2 separate regions of the Homo sapiens genome follow, and region 2 is linked to region 1. The links are contacts of gene promoters, found by promoter capture Hi-C in human tissues and cell types (Jung and others, 2019). All regions are on one chromosome and are shown on one strand. The core of a region is centred on a gene start or on the middle of the fragment in contact, and the rest is flanking DNA. Distances in the headings are between cores, read along the strand shown. Region 1 holds the start of PEPD (peptidase D). Region 2 has its middle 62 kb from the start of LSM14A.

What was found. Contacts are between HindIII fragments. The study calls those that stand out against the background at their distance.
Region 2: a fragment that was not itself captured here is called in contact with the fragment with the promoter of PEPD in region 1 in 1 of the 25 tissues and cell types used here (aorta).

What each region holds. Positions count from the first base shown.
Region 1 is chr19:33,518,440-33,525,134 of GRCh38, forward strand. It overlaps PEPD (peptidase D), which reads right to left and starts at 3,352. Exons shown (of 15, transcript NM_000285.4): 1 at 3,305-3,352. The coding sequence starts at 3,321. LOC105372370 (a long non-coding RNA gene) reads left to right here and starts at 3,495. Exons shown (of 3, transcript XR_935918.3): 1 at 3,495-3,575; 2 at 4,982-5,057. RefSeq lists enhancers at 2,653-3,616, 3,617-4,579 and a silencer at 3,362-3,561. The HindIII fragment of the contact is 21,434 bases long and covers 1-6,654 here.
Region 2 is chr19:34,107,231-34,113,913 of GRCh38, forward strand. No RefSeq gene overlaps it. Among named protein-coding and RNA genes, the nearest start is that of LSM14A, 62 kb to the right of the region's middle. The HindIII fragment of the contact is 7,140 bases long and covers 1-5,322 here.

The DNA of each region.
Region 1 (6,695 bases), core at 2,102-4,601:
AAGAATGCTGACTCCAGTGTAACCTACGGCTCAACAGGGGTACACGTCCAGGGCAGTTCACCTTTGCCTCTTTTTGGCTCTGCAACAGCTCCTGGGAGCCACTCAGTTAAAGAATTAAGGCTATTTCTTCATCCTACCCCTCGGAATTCTGTCCCCATTCCCCACCATGACTCCTTCCCTCAATCACTGGGAGTCTCCCAGGAAAGCAGGATGGGATGCTGGACTAATTTAGAGTAAATCCCCTTTTCATTCATTTCACCAAGCACCAATCACAGGGCAGCCACAGACTGGCCCTGCGGATACAAAAGAACCCCAGGGGTTCTAAGGATGCTAGGAGAGGCATGAAGGGAAGCAACTCCTAACCCACAATGGGCAGACGTGTAAAAGTGTACTGCTGGGGAGAAAACTGAGTGTTCTGGAGTTCTGAGCACTAAACCTTTACCCGAGGGCTGGGAAAGGCTTCTGGGAAAGGGAACCATCTGAGCTGGGCCTGCAAATACGTGAAGAATCATATAGAGGACAAGAACATTCCAGGGCTAGTTGGGTGAGTGTGCAAGGGAAGAAGGGAATGGAAAAAGCCATGTGGGAGAGCAGATGCAGACAGGTCTGGCTGGAGCTGACAGATTTCAAATTATCAATCCTGTCTGTGGAAAGCTCAAAGCATTGCTTAAGGAGACAGCAGCAGTGCCACCAAGTGCCATGGGATAGGGACCCCTCTCCATGAGGGGATGGGAGGTGACCTCAGCGCACTCTGTCTCAACCTGAAGCCTACACCCAGGCTAGCAAGAGAAAGTAGGATCAACCCTGAAACACCCCACATCTTAAAAAGAGAGATGCATTCAGAGTAGATTCTTGAGTTTCAAATTAAATCTGAGATGCTAGTTTAGGGCTTCCCCTACTCCCCAAATCATATGGGGCACACCCCAGTCACCTGGAACTCTCATGGACCCCCTCTGTCCCAGGCTCTGGTAGGATTCTACAGACAACCAAACCCAACTCCCAGTGAGCCCACGGCAATGGCCGTGACTTGCTGGCATCATGCCTCGTTATGCCTGACTCTATGATCTGTTCTGTGAGTGTGGCTAGGAGCTGAGCTTTGCGGGAAACACACTTAATCATTCTGCTCTAAAGGAAGCCACTGGGGTCAACCTCAGGCTCAAAGTACATGGGAAAGCCCCATACCAGACTGGGATGGCTCTTCCCAAGGAGACTGCCAGGCTCTGGAAGCTCCCACACCCTCTCAATAGCAGACCTCTCTAAGACCTGCCACTCTGTTTTGCCTCCCTCACCCACCCTGTGTGGTGGCCCAGAGAATCGGTTCTGCTAGAAAAGCTCTCATTCTGGGGCCAGGCGTGGTGGCTCACACCTGTAATCCTAGCACTTTGGGAGGCGGAGGCGGGTGGATCACCTGAGGTCAGGAGTTCGAGACCAGTCTGGCCAACATGGTGAAACCCCATCTCCACTAAAAATACAAAAAATTAGCTGAGTGTGGTGGCACACGCCTGTAATTCCAGCTACTCAGGAGGCTGAGGCAGAAGACTCGCTTGAACCTGGGAGGTGGAGGTTGCAGTGAGCCATCATGCCATTGCACTCCAGACTGGGCAACAAGAGCAAAACTACGTCTCAAAAAAAAAAAAAGAAAGAGAAAAAGAAAAGCTCTCATTCCAGGATCCAGTCAGTTCCAGACTTGCTCCCGTCCAGACATCAGCTTGGTTCCTTCAGGAGAGCAGCAGGTCTCAGGCCAGCTTGGAATCCTGAACCCAAATGCAACCCCTGGCACTCCCTGTGAGCACCGAGCCAGCCTAACCAGAGAGACAGCACACCCACAGCTGGGCACCAGCCTGCTCAGTCTACCCTTTAAAAGGGTCACAGGCTGGATTCAAGGATCTGACCCTGAGTTCCTTGACACCCATCTGAGACTTTGTCTGCACTGTTCTCTACCTGAAGGGAGTCTCATTGCTGAAGGACTAGCACAAAAGTCACCCAGGAAGTGAAGCCTTCCCACACTTTATCTGAGCTCAGAGTCCATGCCCCTCCTTTGCAAATGGCAAGACCACACGGCAAGCAGATGGATGACAGAGTCCCATGTGTCCATCTGTTCCAGTGGCCTGTGAGTACCTTAAGGGAAGACCCACTGCTATTCCTGGAATATAGCAGGTGCCCACAAAATATTTGATTTGTATGCTCTAAGCTCCCTCAACCTTGGGGGCCAACTTAGAACCCACTTTCTGTTGCCATTTTCCCTGTATCTTAAAAAGAGAGATGCATTCAGTCCACTAGATCCCCCATTCTGACCTCAGTTTCCAACCTGGCATCTGGAATACTGCTCCCTCCTACACCATGCCCCCTCTACCCCACTGTACCACCAGACCCACACCTTCTCCCATTGAACTCACACATAGCTCAGGGGAGCCTAATCTTTAAAAAACAGATCAAGCAGCTTGTAACAAAACCCTTCCAGCCCATCAGGGCAAAGTCTGAAGCCGCCACCTGGAACACCACACCTTCCAACCAGCCCCAGGCATGCACCCCTGTCCCCAGAACACTCTGAACTCTCAACCTTTGTCCCTTACCCTGGGCTCAGATGCTCCCTATCTGGGAGATTCCGCCCAACGCTCTGGTGAACCCATCTGTCCACCCTTCCTCCCACTACGACCACTCAGCTTTCTTTCATTTAGCCCAGTATGGAGCACCTACTGTGTGCAAGGCACCGGGCTACTGAGAAGCAGGTAACATACCTGCCCTTGCACTCTAAATGCAGAGAAGATAAAGAACAAGTACAAACAATGCTCTATATAGTTTATCAGGTGATGATGAGGGCACAAAAAGTGGGATAGATGGTTAGAGAAGGATTCCCTGAGGGGGTGACATTTGGCCCCTGAAAGAAATGGGGAAGTGCCCTGCTGGGAAAAGGGAATTCCAAGTCCGTCTCGAATACCGCCTCCTCCGGGAAGCGCCCGGGTCCCTGGGGTCCTCGCAACGCCGCCCTCCTACCCGGGGGTCTTGGCAGCGAACATGCGTGTCGACCCCAGCCCCCACCGCAGCCGCACACGGTGGGGCCGCCAGACGCGGGCAGGTGGGGCCGGAGCCAGCCAGGAGGGTGGAGAGGAGCTGCGGCCCCCGCGCTGACCCTGACTCGGAGCGTGCAGCTCGCCGACCGGCGCTGGGACTCCGGGCCAACGGGAAGAGGCGCCTACCCGCGGCATTCAGCGACCCCGGCTGACGCTCTCACCCGCGGTCCGGCCGGGACACCCATGCCCCTCTCCACGCCAGCGGGAAAGAGCGAGGGAGGCGCAGCACTCACCCGGTGGCCGCCGCCATGTTCGCCCGGCACCGGCGTCACGTGAAGTGCGGCGTCAGCTGAGCCCCTCCGGGTGCCAATGCATGGGGCGGGGTAAGGGCGGGGCAGGGGGCGGGGCATGGAGTCCTTGACCCACCTCCTCCAGAGCCAAATTCCACGGGACGGGAAGGGGCGGTACCTGGGGAAGGGCGGAGCCCCGATGGGGCGGGGCTCCCGGAGATTGGGGGCCCAAGAGCTCGGCCAGGATAAATGAGCGGGCTGCCGGCTGCAGACAGTAGGTCGGGTTAGCGGGCAGCATCTGCAGCCTTTTCGTGGTGGGAGGGAGGTCCTGAAGCAGAGGACATCTTGATTCTGGTTCAGTCCCCGATCTGGCGTACCAGCCCACCCGGGAGAAGAACACATAGGAATAAAGAAACCACGTGGGAGGAGAGGAGGGAGACTGACCCAGGCTAGGGTCGGGGCAGAGGTGGCGATTTTTGTTTAAGAAGGGAAAGGGCTTGAGCAAAGGCCGTGGGGCAACTGGAGGACTCTAAATGTGCAGCGTCCAGGAGAATGTGCGCGAGAGAGGGGCAGCCTAAGGGAAGCAAGGGCCAGACCCTGCGGGGCCTCCACTGTGGGGCCTATGAGTTAAGTCTGGTAGGATCTTTTCTAGGTTTCCTGGGCTGCAGAATGGAGAAGCTGGAGGAAGGGAAGCCAGGGAGGAGGGCAGGCGAGAAGTGGGCACAGCCGAGAAGGGTTTAGGAGGGAGAGTCTGCCAGAAGGCTTACTCCTCTGCCCCACTGGGCACTGGTACTGGGTGCAGAGTCCTGCAGAGAAGGTGTAGGGACCCTGCAGCAGACGCTGCCCTCCCTACTGCCAACAGAGTCAGGGCATTACAAGCACGGCCCAAATGCGTTGCACATGTGAGCTCATAGAAACCTCACCACAGCCCTATGAGGTCGAGACTATCTTTAAGTCTATTATACAGATGAGGAAACTGAGGCCAGAGAGTGCTCACACAGAGGCTGAGCTCATGAAGCCATACCCTGAGGAGTGACCTCACTGCCCCTGTGAAGGAAGGGGGCCCCACACTGTTGGGGGAGGGCGTCCCTGGCGCCAAGGGTGTACAGATGTGTGTGGTGTACAGATGTGTGTGGACAGGTGGATGGGTGGCCCAGGATAGGCGTGTGGGGCTCCTGACCCCACCCTGCAGCTGTCCCACAGCTGGAAGTGGCTTCTGATCAAAGGTTGTGGGTTGGGGGATGCTTCTTGTTTCTTTATCGAAACAAGGATGTGGGTCACCATGGCCAGGCTGGTGGGAGCCAGGGGCTATGACTGGAGAAGCAGCTTCTGTTTGTCCCCATGAAGCAGGGAGGAGAATAGGCCCCTTAAATAGGAGCAAGGGAGCCAGCCATAAGCAGGGTAGTGAAGGGCACGTGGCACAGTTACCTGGAAGCCCAGTACCATCCCTGCTGTCCTCATCTGTCAGGAGAGAGCTAATGGGGCCACCTCACAGGGCTGCTAGAGGGTTTTACACTCAAACCTGCAGGCACAGCCAGAGACCAAAGCTGCCAGGAGGAATGTGGCCCCTCCAGACAGCCCCTCCCACCTCCCGGTCCCAGATAAGGAAAACGAGAGCTAATGGAAGAGGGGGGGCCTCATCCCTTCTACCCCTTCCCACAACACATGGACAATTTGCAGGGGTCCCTGACCTCCAGGCAAGGTCCAAGAGGAGCTCTCTCCACCCTCTTGCCAGTTTCCAGGAAGAAGAACAGAGGTAAGGATTCACACCCCACTGCCTGGCCTAGGGGCCCCTGAGAACTTCTAACACCCCTAGTTAAGCAGTAGGTCCGCCTTCAGCTTAAGAAACTCAACTCCCTAGTAAGTGGCGCTTTAAAAAATACATAATAACAAAGGGTGAGCAGAATGAGCTTTCCATGCGCCTTCAAGGAAGGAAAACATACCCCCCAGCTCATTCATTGCACCTGCCTCCCACCATTTCTTTTGACATAAAATATGTCAAAATTAAGCCAGCTGCCAGCTCTGAGTGCTTACTAATATGAAAAAGAAGTCAATATCCCAAACACAAAATAATGGAAGGAAGGCACCCACCAACTGAGTGGAGCTCCCTTGTTTGTGGACAGTAATATGGAGGCACTGCCCATGACCCCTGCCCACCCAGGTCCCCTGCCCTCTCCCCTCCCCATCAGGGGCTCCGGCAGGGCTGCCCCTCACCCCTCACCCCTCCCCATCAGAGGCTGTGGCAGGGGCTCCAGAAGCCGCCCAGAATATGGGAGAAGACCATTTAGTTACTTATGCAGGGCAGACCCAGGACGTTGCTGGAGCCAGGAGGCAATTGGGGGAAGATTGATTTTAGAGAGTCGAAGTGGGAGTGTGTAAATCAGCCAAGGCAGCGCGCCAGGCAGCACTCTCATGCGGCATTGCCTCCGAGGTCACAGGCCCTTGTGGCCGAAACAGTCTCCTCTCGTCAAGCCCTGCAGGTGGCTGGTAGATGTCTGCACTCGGTCAGCCTGGTAGCCCGGTAGCCAGCATAGCATTATTCTCCAGAAGGGCCCCCCCAACTCCCGTCAGGCCTTGCAAAAGAAGCTTCACCCTGGGAAGACACCTCTTGTGTCCCGGGACACTGTGTCCAGCCAGGTTTCCCTCCTCCACCCATTCCCCACAATCTAGCCCCCACTCTTGCAACTCCGTGGACGCTGCTGACAGCTGGCTGCCTGGAGACGGCAGGCCCAGATGTGGCGGCCTGCTAGGCTCTGACTCATGAGCCACCCTTGGGCCATGAAGGGGAGGTCCCCGGGAAGAGCCCTGTCCATCTTCTGCTGTGGATTGAGGGCACTGGTCTACCAGAGGCTCTGTGGGACTGCACTGGAGGTAGCCTGGATGCTGGTTCTGCCCTGCACCACCCAGTTGTTGCCCACAGTGCCACTCCAGGACTGGCCATGCTGTGAGGGCCAGGGATCCAGACCCTGCCCTTGCCTAGAGGATCTTTGGTCTGGGGACAGAGGTAGAGGAGCCCTCCACACTGTCCCTGGGGAGTCCACCATCTGGGAGGGCCTCAGAACGGGGCTTCGAGGGTTCTGCTTTTGGCTAATGGGGAGATCCTGGGGGATTCTGAGCTGCAAGCTGCCGATCCAAACCCCTCTCTCCAGCAGGAGCTCAGGAGGATTAGCAGAGAGAACTGAAAAGAGCCAATAAGAGCCAATAAAGCCACTGCACGGGGCCGCCAGCCTCAGATGGTCAAAGCCCTACACAAGATGGCATTTGGGTGTTTTGCGATTGTTTGCTTTTGCTGAGAATAGAAGACTGGATGCAGAAAGCCAGCACCAAATAAACAGAAGAGGAAGAATAGAGGGGACTGTGGGTGTGAGATAGGGGCAGGGTGGCATATGGCAAC
Region 2 (6,683 bases), core at 503-3,002, 590 kb after region 1:
ATTTGTGAACACATTTAAACTCGGTACTTTTACCACTTGATCCTGAGTCATACTTTCAGAATAAAATCATACATCACGACTGAGAGTCAATCCCCATAAAATGGCTCTGCGAAAGGAAAACATGGCCCTTGAATTAACAAGAGCTGTTTATGAAGCCCAAACAAGATGGACAAAAAAAGAGGTGTTGTGAACCAAAGAGTTCTCCTAAACTTCTCTCACCTGTGTTCCCTGAGAATAAAAAAGGGACAATCTTTTTTTTTTTTTGAGATGGGGTCTCGCTCTGTCGCCCAGGCTGGAGTGCAGTGGCGCCATCTCTGCTCACTGCAACCTCCGCCTCCCAGGTTCGTGATTCTCCTGCCTCAGCCTCCCAAGCAGCTGGGATTACAGGCTGTGCACCACCACACTCGCATAACTTTTGTATTTTTAGTAGAGATGGGGTTTCACCATGTTGGCCAGGCTGGTCGTGAACTCCTGACCTCAGGTGATCCGCCCACCTTAGCCTTCCAAAGTGCTGGGATTACAGGCGTGAGCCACCACGCCTGGCTCCAGGGACAATCTTTTTAAAACAAGGAAGTCACAAAGAGGAAAAACTGATTTGCCCCTCCAGAAGATTCACACTTGGAACCACAGAAAGGCTTCACAAAGACCATTTTCCACCCTCCAGGTGTGTAAAGGTGGGGCCACACCCCAACTCCTCCAGTGTCACCTTTACCAGCCACAGGTGTATTTCCCTCTCCCCCTCCCTGGGAACAGACCCTACAGAAGGAACTTCTTTTCCCAATGAACGAATTGCAGAGTTACAGAGTTCTGATGTTTATCTTCATTAGATACTAGAAACGAATGAACCATTTAGAATAAAACCAAACGTCAACATGATACCAAACGGTGCATCTGAACGTGTCCCTGACCTGTGACCTTAGCACACTGAAGGGTGCCAAGGCTCCAACCTGCTCTGCCCCAACCTGTTCTTCTAACTGCCCTAGGTGTGTCCACACGTGTGGTGGGGTAGGTGACTCTAAGAATTTCAGATACTTAGATTGCAAATAATATGAGATAAAGCATAATTCCTCTTAAATAAAGCAGGTGCTCTTTTTAGGAACTCTTAAGTTATTTGAGAAAAAAAAATTACAGTTACAAAGCTTCTAAAAACCATCCCCAGAGCCATAAGATTGTGACATCAAAAATAGTGGAGGCCAGGCATGGTGGGCTCACACCTGTAATTCCAGCACTTTGGGAGGCGGAGGCATGAGAATTGCTGGCATCCAGGAGGCAGAGGCTGCCATGAGCCGGGATCACGCCACTGCATTCCAGAGCGACTCAGGAAAAAAAAAAAAAACCACCAGTGGATGGAAAAATAACTAAGGCCAAGTGCAGTGGCTCATGCCTGTAATCTCAGCATTTGGGAAACTAAGGTGGGGGCATTGCTTGAGCTCAGGAGTTTGAGACCAGTAACACAGCAAAACCCCGTCTTCATTAAAAATACAAAAAATTAGCCAGGCATGGTGGACATGCCTCTAGTCCCAGCTACTCAAGAGGCTGAGGCAGGAGGATGGCTTGAGCCCAGGAATTCGAGGCTGCAGTGAGCTAAGATCAGGCCACTGTACTCCAGCACGGGCAACAGAGTGAGACCTTTTCTCAAAAAATATAAAGAATAAATAAATAAATAATTAGGGCCAGTATTATGCTGAACTCATCCTAAAAATATGTTGTTTTCAGGCATTTACGTGATGCTCAGATCCTCTCCCACATTCCCTCCACTCAATATCAGAGCCTAGCTTCAGTCAGTGGAGAGTTGGAGCAAGAAACTTACCTAGGGGCTAATTAATCAGCGAGTCCTACAGAGAGCCTGCTGCGTGCAAGATGCTGAGCTGGGCCTTCATGGTGGCACCACCTGTGCGGTTCTCCTCCTGGCTTTCGCAAACCTGTCTAGACTCCTTTCCTCTTGCCCCCCTGCCTCTGAAACACAGCATCTCGGGCTGGGCACAGTGGCTCACACCTGTAATCCCAGCACTTTGGGAGGCCAAGGAGGGTGGATCACCTGAGGTCAGGAGTTTGAGACCATCATGGCCAACATGGTGAAACCCTACTAAAAATACAAAAATTAGCTGGGCATGGCGGCACGTGCCTGTAATCCCAGCTACTCGGGAGGCTGACGCAGGAAAATCACTTGAGCACAAGAGGCAGAGGTTGCAGTGAGCTGAGATCATGCCACTGCCCTCCAGCCTGGGTGACAGAACAAGACTCCGTCTCAAAAAAAAAAATTAGCCTATGTGCTGGCGTGCACCTGTAATCCCAGCCACTGCGGACGCTGAGGCAGGAGAATCGCTTGAACCCAGGAGGCAGAGGTTGCAGTGAGCCAAGATTGTGCCACTGCACCCCAGCCTGAGTAGCAGAGCAAAACTCTGTCTCAAAAAAGAAAAAAAAAACATACACACACACACACACATACAGAGCATCTTGCTCTCTGGCACCACTGTCATACCCAACAGCCTCTCCTTCACTTGTGGATCAGCAAACCCCAGCTCATTAACCAAGGCTCAGAGCCAAGACCTCTGTGAAGCCATCTGTAAAGGCCACAGTAGAGTGGCTCCTCGTCCTCTTTCTCCATGTGATGTGGCTTTACAAGCACAGCTAACTTCCCTGTCACACGGCCAGCCCCTTAGAGAAGGGAGGATGCCTTCATTGCCTTCATTAACACAGAGTAGAGTTCCTATAATGACTTACTAAGTCACACTGAGACCTAACGTAAAATTAAACCATAAGGAATCAAGGCATATGGGTTTATTGCTGTACCTTTAAATGAAACCCACAGAGAAAAGTGAAACGATCATCCAGTTTTTTAATAGCAGTAGCATCTCTGAATGTTGTCAGAAATTTTTCCCTTGTGGTTATTTCATTACAATTTAAGAAACTTTAGGAGTGGCATATAAAATATTTTGCCTATCTTTTTTAATTTTTATTTTATTATTTTCTTAATTTTTTTTGTAGAGATGGGGGTTTCACTCTGTTGCCCAGGCTGCAGTGCAGTGGCATGATCATAACTCATCATAGCCTTGAACTCCTGGCCTCAAGAGATCCTTCCACTTCTGCCTCCCAAGTAGTGGGACTACAGGTGCACACCACTACAATCAGCTAATTTTTTTTGGTAGAGACGGGGGCTTGCTCTATTGCCCAGGCTCATCTCAAACTCCTGACCTCAGGCAATCCTCCCACCTCAGCCCCCTAAAGCACTGAGATTATGGGTGACAGCCGCCATGCCTTGCCTATATTTTCTTTCTTATACAATAGATAAAAATGAAATCAGGCTGGGCACAGTGGCTCTCACCTGTAATCCTAGCACTTTGGGAGGCTGAGGTGACAGGATCACGTGAGTCCAGGAATTCAGGATCAGCCTAGGCAACATGGCAAAACCCCATCTCTGCAAAAAAAATTGTAAAAATTTGCCAGGCATGGTGGCACGTGCCTAAAGTCCCAGCTACTTGGGAAGCTGAGGTGCGAAGATCATCTGAACCCAGGAGGTCAAGGCTGCAGTGAGCTGTGATCATGCCACTGCACTCCAGCCTGAGTCACAAAGTAAGACCCTGTCTCAAAAAACGAAATCAAAGTCTCCACCTCCCAAGCCAAACCACAACCCTTCCTGAGCTCCCCACCGTCCCATCTCAGTGGAAGCCCATGGAGCACCATCCAGAGTCCCCAGGTCAGAAGCCCTGGAGTCCACTCTGGATGCTGCACTAGACACTGCCCAGGGCAGCACACCTCTCCTGAAGTGCTCCCTGGGTTTTTCCTCTGTCCCCACTGGCCTCTTCTCTTGGTCTCCTCTGCAGATTTCTAAGGCCCACTCCAAAGGCTGGCTTGGTCCTCAGTCCACACTCTCTCTTGCAGAAAACAATGCAGGTACTCTGCCCAGATTGCCCAGGTTCCTGTATACTATGGCTTTACACACCTTTAGCTGTAATGTGATTTTGGTCCTAATGGCAGCTCCTGGGCCGCTTCCTTTTTTTTTTTTTTTGAGATGGAGTCTCGCTCTGTTGCCTAGGGTGGAGTGCAGTGGCATGATCTTGGCTCACTGCAACCTCCACCTCCCAGGTTCAAGCGATTCTCCTGCCTCAACCTCTCAACTAGCTGGGATTACAGGTACCCACCACCACGCCTGGCTAATTTTTGTATTTTTAGTAGAGATGTGATTTCACCATGTTGGCCAGGCTGGTCTCGAACTCAGAACCTTGGGTGATCCGCCTTGGCTTTCCAAAGTGCTGGGATTACAGTGTGAGCCACTGCGCCTGGCCAACCTCTTCTTTAGAGGACTGCCTTTGGGTTGCCAGAGTCACACCGTCCACAGGCACAGGAGCTAGAAGTGCCTGGGAGGCACTAGCCTTAGCCCAAGGTTAACACGCCTCTGCAGCACCATCTACATGCACAAATGCCCCTGTCAGATCAAACTGAAGCCTATCCACTGTGGGACTCTGGCCTGATAGTACATTCTGCTTGGCTTCCTCCCCTTCCGTATCTGCTTACCACAATGTCTTGTTTAAAATTAATTCATAGTTTTTCAGTAGAGACAGATGTCTCACTATGTTGCCCGGGCTAGTCTTGAACTCCTGGCCTCAAGTGATCCTCCTGCCTCAGCCTCCCAAAGTGCTGGGATTACAGGCATGAGCCACCACACCCAGCCCACGACAATCTCTTACTAGTCTTTGCTGGGACTAGTTCCTTAATAACATCATATTTGCTCAAAAATTATTGTCTCAGGATCTACTTCCAGGAAACTCATTTGGAAACAGGAATGGGGGTGCTAAGGAACAGATTCTTTTTTCTTTTTTTTTTTTTTTTTGAGATGGAGTCTCTCTCTGTCGCCCAGGCTGGAGTGCAGTGGTGTGATCTCTGCTCTCCACAAGCTCCACCTCCCGGGTTCATGCCATTCTCCTGCCTCAGCCTCCCAAGTAGCTGGGACTACACGCACCCACCACCACGCCCAGCTAATTTTTTGTATTTTTAGTCGAGACACGGTTTCATCGTGTCAGCCAGGATGGTCTCGATCTCCTGACCTCGTGATCCGCCCGCCTCGGCCTCCCAAAGTGCTGGGATTACAGGCGTGAGCCACCGCACCCGGCCGCTAGGGAACAGATTCTAAGATGGGATTTTAGAGCTGGATCATTCCCCAGCCAAATGGCAATAGAGTCCCCATTGTCAGTGATGAGTGGATTAATGGCAAGCTGTGCAATTGCTTAACTAATAATCACTAGTACTTTCATCTGTGATGAATTGGCTGAGATACAAAGGAAAAGGAAGCACTGGTTCACGAGCTATATTTCTAGCATTTGATAGACGTGGGGAAGTAGCTACACAGACTCAGAAATCTAATCACTTGTTGTTCAGTGCTATTGAAGCACCGAAGAAAGACCATGACAGGTTCAGGACAGCCAATTATCAACTCACAGCATGGTGTGAAAGTCAGGTGGCCTCTATGGCAGCATTTAATATAGCCATTTTAGCATCCTTTTGATTGGTGTTGCATGATACATCTTTTCCCATCGCTTTAAATTTAACCTATTGATGCCCACATATATATGTATATGTGTGTGTGTGTATATATATATGTGTGTGTGTGTGTGTGTATGTATATGTGTGTGTGTGTGTGTGTGTGTGTGTATATATATATATATATATTTTTTTTTTTTTTTTTGAGACAGAGTCTCACTCTGTCACCCAGGCTGGAGTACAGTGGTGCAGTCTTGGCTCACCACAACCTCCGCCTCCCAGGTTCAAGCAATTCTCGAGTCTCAGCCTCCCGAGTAGCTGGGATTACGGGTATGTGCCACCACGCCCAGCTAATTTTGTTTTTGTTTTTGGGTTTTTTGTTTGTTGTTGTTGTTGTTGTTTTGTATTTTTAGTAGAAATGGGGTTTTGCCACGTTGGCCAAGCTGGTCTCAAACTCCTGGCCTCAAGTGACCCGCCTGCCTCAGCCTCTCAAAGTGCTGGATTACAAGCAAGCAATAGCCACAACGCCTGGCTGATGCCCTTATATTTAAAGTGTTTCTTGCAGGCAGTACATAAGGTTGGGTCTTACTTTTGACCTAATTTGACAATCTCTCCCTGTTAATTGGGGTGTACGCAGCATTTCCATTTAATCTGATTACTGATATGGTTGGGTTTAGAAGTTATCATGTTGCTATTTGTTCTATCTGTCCCATGTGTTCTTTGTTCTTTTGTTCTTCTTTTGTTGCCTGATTTTGGATTGAGCATTTTTTATGAATTCGCGTATCTCCTTTGTTGACTTACCAGCCATAAGTCTTTGTTGTGTCATTTTAGTAGTTGCTTTAGGGCCACCTAATCCATGGAGTAAGATAATTCATGGTAGAATAGGCTAAAAAGAAGCCCCAGAAATTGTCCTTCCTCTGAACTTGATAGTACATTTTTAAAACAATACCATTAGAATGACTTCTGGAACGACAGAGTGAGGACCTCCATGGACTCACTTTAGAGAAATGACCAAAACTGATGAGATTTATTTAAAAAAAAAAAAAAAAGCCAGGCGCGGTGGCTCATGCCTGTAATCCCAGCACTTTGGGAGGCCGAGGCGAGCAGATCACCTGAGGTCAGGAGTTCAAGACCAGCCTGATCAACATGGTAAAACTCCGAATCTACTAAAAATACAAAATTAGCTGAAAATACAAAATTAGCCA